2 separate regions of the Homo sapiens genome follow, and region 1 is linked to region 2. Evidence: promoter capture Hi-C in 16 types of primary human blood cells and fetal thymus (Javierre and others, 2016). All regions are on one chromosome and are shown on one strand. Each heading gives the region's core, a stretch centred on a gene start or on the middle of the fragment in contact. The rest is flanking DNA. Distances are from core to core; before and after follow the strand shown.

Evidence for each region. Contacts are between HindIII fragments. The CHiCAGO score rates a contact against its expected background, and 5 or more counts as called.
Region 1: a fragment that was not itself captured here is called in contact with the fragment with the promoter of PIGH in region 2 in 3 of 17 cell types (total B cells, naive CD4 T cells and erythroblasts); the score reaches 6.0 in total B cells.

The regions. Positions count from the first base shown.
Region 1 is chr14:67,676,141-67,680,840 of GRCh38, forward strand. RDH11 (retinol dehydrogenase 11) reads right to left here. Exons shown (of 7, transcript NM_016026.4): 7 at 660-2,283. The coding sequence ends at 2,181. It also overlaps a transcript of GPHN not described here. Among named protein-coding and RNA genes, the nearest start is that of VTI1B, 3.9 kb to the left of the region's middle. RefSeq lists a silencer at 4,171-4,270. The HindIII fragment of the contact is 5,784 bases long and covers 1-4,700 here.
Region 2 is chr14:67,599,018-67,603,200 of GRCh38, forward strand. PIGH (phosphatidylinositol glycan anchor biosynthesis class H) reads right to left here and starts at 1,251. Exons shown (of 4, transcript NM_004569.5): 1 at 1,007-1,251. The coding sequence starts at 1,186. It also overlaps a transcript of GPHN not described here. RefSeq lists an enhancer at 929-1,248. The HindIII fragment of the contact is 5,160 bases long and covers 1-2,267 here.

The DNA of each region.
Region 1 (4,700 bases), core at 709-3,208, 78 kb after region 2:
TCAAGGTGTCTGTTCTCAAATGTTTGCTTGGGAGTTCAATTTTAAACTGCCTACAAATATTAAAAGATGTATGACTGCTCAGGAGAAAATGCTTTGCTAATTTGTATCTCCTGGGCCCTCATTTTTATTAGATCAAGTTCATTGGCTGTTGATTCAACACACTTTGGTTAAGCTCTTAATATGCACTGAGCATAGACATGACCAAGTCTGAGGATAGTCAGTATACTGTGTAAGTCCCACAGCACAATGCTGGGACTTGTCACAGTACAGAAATAAGGGGCAGGTGCAAAAAAAGGATCAATAGCCTGGGGCCGGGTGCTGCGGCTCACACCTGTACCCCAGCACTTTGGGAGGCCAAGGTGGGAGGATCGCTTGAGCCCAGAGTTTGAGGCCAGCCTGGGCAACAAAGCAAGACGCTGTCTCTAATTAAAAAGAAAGGAAAAAAAAATGGCCCGGGATGATCAAGAAATGTGGAAAAAGTGTCTGTGAAGAGTGTCAAAAAAGGTTAAGTAGGAAATGGTGAATGAACAATTAGATTATCACACAACCTAAATTAATAGCATGTGGATTGAGATTACACTGTAGCTAGACTCTGGAACAAATTATTCTTTAGAATGAGAAATCATTGCACAACCATAATAATGAACAGTGTTTTCTTCTTTTGACTGTAATCAAACTTTTAATTCTTAGTTTTTATTCTGGTAAATGAAAACAAAAAATAATCAAAAAGAATTTTTATTTGTCATTGACAGTTCAATATAAATTAAGTAAAACATTAATTCATTTATTCTGCACTATTATCAGAATTTTTCTAATTTTTCCGTAAAATGACCATTTCTAAACATATAGCTTAATGGTCAAAACAAGTGCAATAAAAGATTAATTTACAAGTATCAGAAGTGAAGACTGTGGTCCTATAACTCTTTCCCCCACCAAAGTTAAAATATAATTGTCATTCCAGGAAATCAAAATCTTTTAGAATAGCACACTCCAAACAAGTGATGGGAACACTACTAATTCCTTAGACTTCCTTTGGCAGCATTACTTTTGATAAGAAGTCTCCAAATAAAATACAAAATTTTGGCACAGACATTTTAATCTTGTCAAGACAATGTAAGGAAATGCCCCAAAATATTATTAAATTGACCATAATTACCAATATCAGTCCCTAAGATAATTTTTCTGAATGAAGAATTGTTTTTTTTGTTTGTTTGTTTTTAGGATTTTTTTTTTTTTTTTTTTTTTTTTTTTTGCCACACTGGTTTTTGTTAAGACCTCATCAGTCCTGGGTGCTTGCCCTCAATTCCTCCATAGCTATGTTAGCATATTTAATATCTTTTGCTATTAATCCTTAACTAGTTAATCCTTAAAGGGCTAGTTAATCCTTAACTAGTCCCTTCATTTTGTGCATTATCTTCCAGTATTCTCCTTCTCTTTTTTTACTTCTTCCCTGCTACCCATGTGCTCTTGGTGGGTAGTTACCAACATATACAGAATCTGCTTCCCTTTGCAGCATTTCATTTGCATAAAGACTGGATGGCACTGGTTTGCTCCATCTCTGATTATTGTGGCTGTTTTGAACTTTGTGAAAATACTCCCTTGGCACACATAAACAGGAAGACACACAAAGATATACACAATTTTTAGTAGAGGTGGGGTTTCACCATGTTGGCCAGGCTGGTCTTGAACTACTGACCTCCGGTGATCCACCATGCCTGGGCAAGCCCTGCTCCTGAGCCAGTCTTTGTTATTCATGTTAAGCTGAGGTTGCAGTGTGGCCCTCTTGAAGTGAAGACTGGTTGGTTGGGAGGAACTGAATTGTGAACAAAGAAGCTAGTTCAAATTTGCATAAATCATCCCTGCTATAGCTTAGATTCTCCTAGGTAGTAGTTTCTTTCAGAAGGAAAATGAGCTGTGCAGGTCATATGAGGGTCTTCTTATCCTATTATGATATCTCTAGTAACTCTGGCAGTAACAGAAGCAAAGTAAATCTGGACATGACAGACATTTAGACGAATCTGGCAGTACACTGAGTTTTAACTGGACACCAAGCAGGCAAGGCTGGAAGGTTTTGCTCTCTTTGTGCTAAAGGTTTTGAAAACCTTGAAGGAGAATCATTTTGACAAGAAGTACTGTGTAGTCTGCTGCAGTCTTCTCTTGGGTCCAACTGGCACTGCCTGTTAGTCTATTGGGAGGCCCAGCAGGTCACAACTGACGTCCCACAGCCGCCTTGCTATAGTCTCATTACGAGCTTGGGCAGAGACCCATGCCACATGACAGTCACTGGAAGGTAAAGAGAAAGGTATGAAGCACAGTGTTAAGAATGAAGTCTGCCATCTGCCAGGGATAAGGAATATGACATAAAAACAACTAGGGATCACATGTTCTCCATGTACTTCACAGGGCCAGTGTTTGTCCTTATCTCTTCATTCTCCAGTCCTTAGCCAGAGAAAATGTAATTACCATTTTAGATCTCCTCGCTAGACCACCTCTCATCAGAATGCTTTGTTTGATATATAATGCATACATTTGGTCTTTATATTCCCCTATTTATATAATTTAATATTAGTGCCTGCCTGACACCCATGTATATCCATCTTCTTCAAGTAAGTCCATAAGGCCCATTCTACAGAGCCTTGGACAATGTCATATAGCTGAGATCCTGCTATTCACATTGGTCAGAGATGCCTGGAGTAGTAAAAAAAAAAAAGAAATGCTTATTTCTGGACTCCTTGAAGTTATACTGTTAGTAAACTCATATGAGAAGTAAAGCCAGCTTCGAAAACAACAAAAGGAAAAGGCGACACAGAAAAGAAATGGTAAAACCAAGGTACGAGGTGTCTTGGTCCATTTTGTGGTACTGTAACAGAATACGACAAACTGGGTAACTATAATGAGCATACAGAAACTGGCTTATGATTATGGAAGCTGAGAAGTCCAAGATCAAGGGGCTGGCATCTGATGAAGGCCTTCTTGCTGTGTAATAACAAGATGGAAGGCATGACATGGGCAAGAGAGGGAAGGGGACACAAGTCATCCTTTAATAAGGAACCACTCCCAAGATAATGAACCCGTTCCAGAGATAATGGCATTAAACCATTCATGAGGGCTGCCCTTGTGACCTAATTTACCTCTTAAAGGCCCTGCCTCTCTATACTGTTGTATTGAGGCTTAAGTTTCCAACATATGAACCTTGAGGGACACATTCAAATCATAGCAAAGTGTTTCATATACCCTCTCTTCATTGCTGTAATTAATTCCAAGTTTTTTTTTTTTTTTTGGAGGCGGAGTCTCACTCTGTCGCCCAGGCTGGAGTGCAGTGATGCGATCTCAGCTCACTGCAACCTCCGCCTCCCAGGTTTGAGCAATTCTCCTGCCTCAGCCTCCAGAGTAGCTGGGATTATAGGCGCCTGCCACCATGACTGGCTAATTTTTGTATTTTTAGTAGAGACAGGGTTTTGCCATGTTGGCCAGGCTGGTCTCGAACTCCTGACCTCAAGTGATCCACCTGCCTCGGCCTCCCAAAGTGCTGGGATTACAGGCATGAGCCACTGCACCCAGCCTGTAATTCCAAGTTTTATAATTTTATAATTCCGATGCAGAAAATTTTCTTAAGGACAATTCTGACTCATTTTTGTATTCTCTGGATCTGGTATACATCTGGTAAGCATTCAGTCAAAGTTTTAAAAAAAATGATTGAATGTATTACAATCTTTAGTCATGTGAGGAAACAATTTTTAAAAGTATACTATTTCAAGAAAATTGCTTCCTCAGTATCTAAGCAAATTCTGAAGGTGAAAGAGTTGACAAGTCTGAATTAACTATATATGCAAACTCTTAACACTATGTCAAGTAAGACAGTGGGATTCAAAGTGTGCACCACAAACCAGCAGCAGGAGCATCAACTGGGAGCTTGTTAGAAATTCTCCAGCCCTACTCCAGACATACTGAATGAGAATCTCTAGGGTTGTGGTCCAGGAATCTATTTTCAACTAGTTTTCCAGATGACTCTTGAACACACTAAAGTTTGAGAAATACCATTTCAAAATATCGTCACGTTTACAAAACAAGTCTTATCAGTACTTCTGTTTAAGAAGACTCACCAGTATGACCAGTACAACTTGCCATTTCCTAGTGAAAAGATCATCAGTGAGAACCACAAGGCTCTGTATCTCTCTGGAAATGACTCAGCCTTTGTAAGCCTCTGCATCCTCCACTGCACTGTGCCTTATACTCTTCATAAGGTTACAGTTAAGAGCAAAGAACACAGTTGACATGAAGGTTCCTTGTAGGCTATAAAAACTAATCAAATACTACAGCAAGAGCTTTCTGGTTGTTTTTTTTAGACAGGGTCTCACTGTTGCCCAGGCTGGAGTGCAGTGGTGTGATCGCAGCTCACTACAACCTCCCCAGGCTCAGGTGATCCTCCTATCTCAGCCTCCCAAGTAGCCAGGACCACAGGGACACGCCACCACGCCTGGCTAATTTTTGCATTTTTTATAGAGATGGGGTCTCATTATGTTGCCTAGGCTGGTCTTGAACTCCTGGGCTCAAGTAGTTTGCCCACCTCAGCCTCCCAAAGTGCAGGGATTACAGGCGTGAGCCGCCGCGCCCAGCCAAGTAAGAGCTAGTTAAGTGTGCCTATGGCATCAGCATGGTCACAGTATTGACATTTCCAGGGGGATTTTGCTAAGAATTAG
Region 2 (4,183 bases), core at 1-2,500:
CATACGGTTTAGATAGTTAGATAGTTTCCTGCAATTAGGGCAGTCTTAATTCTGCATATTTCTATGCTAAATTACCATGCTCTGAAACACGCTTTGACAGCAAAAAAGCGAATGGATGCAGTAATGGAAACAATATCCAAGTTACAAAAATAAATAGCCCTGCTGTACTTAGCTCTGATTAGATCACTTCTGGGATAATACATTCAATTCAGGCACTACATATGAAACTAGAACTTATCCTGAAAATTAGGATAATTCTTTTTATTTGAGAGCTGTCACAAAGTTACTGCATTTAACCCTCACAATATCATGAAGCTGGTATGGCAGGCATGAATTCTATTTTAGAGATGTAGAAAATTGAGGCTCAGAGAAAACAGGAATGAATCTGGAAATTGAGCACAGCTATCACACACGTCCAAAATTTCATAAACCTTTAGAAAGTACTTGAAATTGGGGAAGGGTTTGGGAGGAGGGAGGGTTAAAAAACTCCCTTGAAAAACAGAGATTAGGAAGAACTATAACACTCTATCTATACACACAGATAAACACACACACTTGTGGAGGCAAAGACAGTTTGTGGAAGTCTACGTAAAGTATTGTTAGCAGTACTACTTTGAGGAGCAGAAGGGATGGACGAGGAAGACCCACTTAGTAGTTCCTTGAACTCTTGGAATTAAATTACTGCGCGCCTATACTACATAGAACACATGGCAGTTAAAGTTTTAGGCCGTCGCGCAAGAACTAGATGTATGCTGAGTGAACCCACGGAGCAGAGCACAGCCACGGAAGGGGAATGTACTATCCAGGAGCACACATTTCACTAAACGTCATTTAAAGAGCTGTCCAGCAGCGGAATATCGTCCCCAGAACCCGTGAGTTCCCGCCCTCCTGTCCTATCACTGTAGGAGGGGCCGACCAGAGGTCCGGGCTCGACCAAAGACCCCAAAGACCCTCCCAAAGCCGAACCCCCTCCTTCGAGCGCGGGGAGGGGCCGACTTGCCATTACCTCGCAGAGGGTGAAGAGTCCGTAGGCCGCCAGCCACACCGTGCAGGTGACAGCGGTGAGCGAACGCAGCGAGAGCCGAGGGCAGCTGAGGCAGAATTCCCGGCAGGACGGGGAGTAGTAGCGGCGCTGCAGCGCCAGGCGGCCGCCGCAGATATCCGAAAAGCTCCGCTCATCCTCCATGACGCCCCCACTCGGCCGCCCGCACCGCGCGGCGCTGCACTGCGCTCGCCGGCCCTGGCCGTCTCGCCCGCTCCAGACCCGCTTCCGGCAGCCGCGTCACCACGCCCCGCCCTAAGCCTGCGCAGCCTCAGTTGCGCGCCGAGAGCTCTGCTGGGGGCTGATGGTTGTGCGTTCTTCCGGGCCGGCCTTGACTGTCTTCGAAAAAACCTCGTCGGGGCAATAGTTAAGTGGAAAGATTAAAATCGTTTTTAGACCGGGCGCGTTGACTCAGGCCTGTAGTCCAGCACTGGGAGGCCAAGGCGGGAGGATCGCTTGAGCCTGGGAGGTCGAGGTTGCAGTGAGCGGAGATCATGCCCCTGCTCTCTAGCCTGTGCGAGAGAGCAAGACCCTGTCTCAAAACAAACCCACAGTTTGTTTTTGTTTTGAGACGGAATGGCGCGACGTCGGCTCACTGCAACCTGCTTCCCCCGGGTTCAAGCGATTCTCCTGCCTAAGCCTCCTGAGTAGCTGGGATTACAGGCGCGCGCCACCACGCCCTGCTGATTTTTGTATTTTTAGTAGAGACAGGTTTCACCATGTTGGCCAGGTTGGTCTCAAACTCCTGACCTCAGGTGATTCGCCCGCCTCGGCCTCCCGAAGTGCTGGGATTACAGGCGTGAGCCACCGCACCCAGCCCAAACCCACAGTTTTAATCATGCTTTTGCTTGGCAAGCCGATTTCTCTAAGCCAGAGTGAGCCGCAAGGAGAGCCCACGGGTATTCATTTCACTTACTCTTTTCCTGTGCCGGGTAGTTTGAGGTGCTTGAGGATGCAGCAGTGAACGATGTTGATGACAGTCTCTGCCCTCGGGCAGCTTCCTTTCTAGTAGGAGACAATATGGAAATAAGAGAGTATCGTTGGCAATACTATGCTGACTGGCAGGGATGGACTGAGGACTTTACATAGGGCAGTCAGGCGAAGTCTCTAAGTAAGAGGACACTGAGTTACAAGGGTGACGAGCCAGACAGGACTGAAGGAGCTCTGGAGGAGGAATTTGCCAGAAAGAAAGACCAGGAAAGGCAAACCCCTCGAAGTTGGAACAAGCTTGGCTTAATGAAATAATCAAAAGGCGAGAAAGGTTGGTGTGTGGGGAAAACAGTTGGAAGCTGGGGAGGCAGGTAGGGGTCAGATCCAAGAGGGTCTTGTAGGGTCTGGTAAGGAGTTTGGATTTCACTGCCTGGGAGTTCTGTCTCCCAAATGACTGCTTGGACCGTGGTAGACAGGCAAGACCTGGCTGGGAATTAAGCAGGAGCGGGAGATGCAGAAGAAATGGATAATAAAATTACTAAACTCATGAGTAATAGTGGCCTATGAGTTCCATTTTTACTTCTGATGTGGCCCAGGAGTGGCTATGTGGACTGTCAAAACACTTGTGATGGGCTGGGCATGGTGGCACATGCCTGTAATCTCAGCACTTTGGGAGGCTGAGGAGGGCAGATCACTTGGGTCAGGAGTTCAAGATCAGCCTGGCCAACATGGTGAAACCATCTCTACTAAAAATACAAAAAAATTACCTGGGCATGGTGGAGCATGCCTGTAATCCCAGCTGTTCGGGTGGCTGAGGCAGGAGAATCACTTGAACTTAGGAGTTCAAGACCAGCCTGGGCAACAGAGCAAGACTGTGTCTATATTCATTTAAAAAAAAAAAAAGATCCATGGCATAAAGGTCTCACCAGCTTTAAGTCTCTCTGATGAAAGGTTCCGTTTCTTCATCTTCATTCAGAATTTTATTTCCCTTTCTTTTTTCCTAAAGGATTTCTTCAAGCACTTCTTTATTTTTCTAGTTTTATTTCTGTGCCCCGAATCTGACAATTAATACACTCCTTTTATTAGTCCGTTTTCACACTGCTATAAAGAACTACCTGAGACTCGGTAATTTATAAAGAAAAGAGGTTTATTGACTCACAGTTCCACATGGCTGGCAAGGCCTCAGGAAACTTACAATAATGGTGGAAGGCAAAGGGGAAGCCAGGCATGTCTTACATGGCAGCAGGAGGGGAGTGGGGAAGTGCCACATTTTTAAACCGTCAGATCTCGTGAGAGAACTCACTCAGCATCACGAGACCAGCATGGGGGAAATCCGTCCCCATGATCCAATCACCTCCCACTGGGTCCCTCCCCTAACAAGTGGAGATTACAATTTGACATGAGATTTGGGTAGGCACAGAGAGCCGAACCATATCACCCCTTTTACTATTGCATATATCATGTGTTTTATAATTATAAAAGTGATATTTGCTTATTGTGGAAAATTTGAAAAATACAGAAAAGAAAAAAATGTAAACCACCCATATTTCCATCACTCAGAGATAAGTACTGTTAATGTTTTGGGGAAGCCTGTAGTCCTGGAGTTCTTAACTTGGGCTCCACGGATAGAATCAGTGTTTCATTTTTAGTTTCATTAACTTCTAATTAAAATTTAACATTTCTTTTGATTATGAATATGGGCAACAAACTAGTATTAGTAGAGCTTGTGATTTTTGTCACTGACAGAAATCACAGATATTTTCTTTTCACAATAATTGTTTCAAAATGTCATTTCTAGTCATTGCTACTTCAAAATTGCAGTAATTATTAAACCCATCACTAGCTATTATTATTTAATGTGTCAATAAAGAGAAACATATCACTGTAACACATTTTTAAAATATTTTGATAACCATATTTTAATTTAGTTGATTTTCTTAGAAGTCCTATGTATTTATACATTTTAAAGCATTATTATAATAAAGGGTCCATTCATTTCGCCAAACTTCCAGAGGGTCTACAATACAAAAGGTACCTGTACAGGCTAAGAAGTTTCTTTTCTTTTTCTTTCTTTCTGGTTTGTTTTGTTTTGTTTGAGGCAAGGTCTTGCTCTGTCACCGAAAGCGGAGTGCAGCAGTGGTACGGTCATGGCTCACTGCAGTCTCAACTTCCTGGGCTAAAGAGATCCTCCCACCTCAGCCCCTCAAGTAT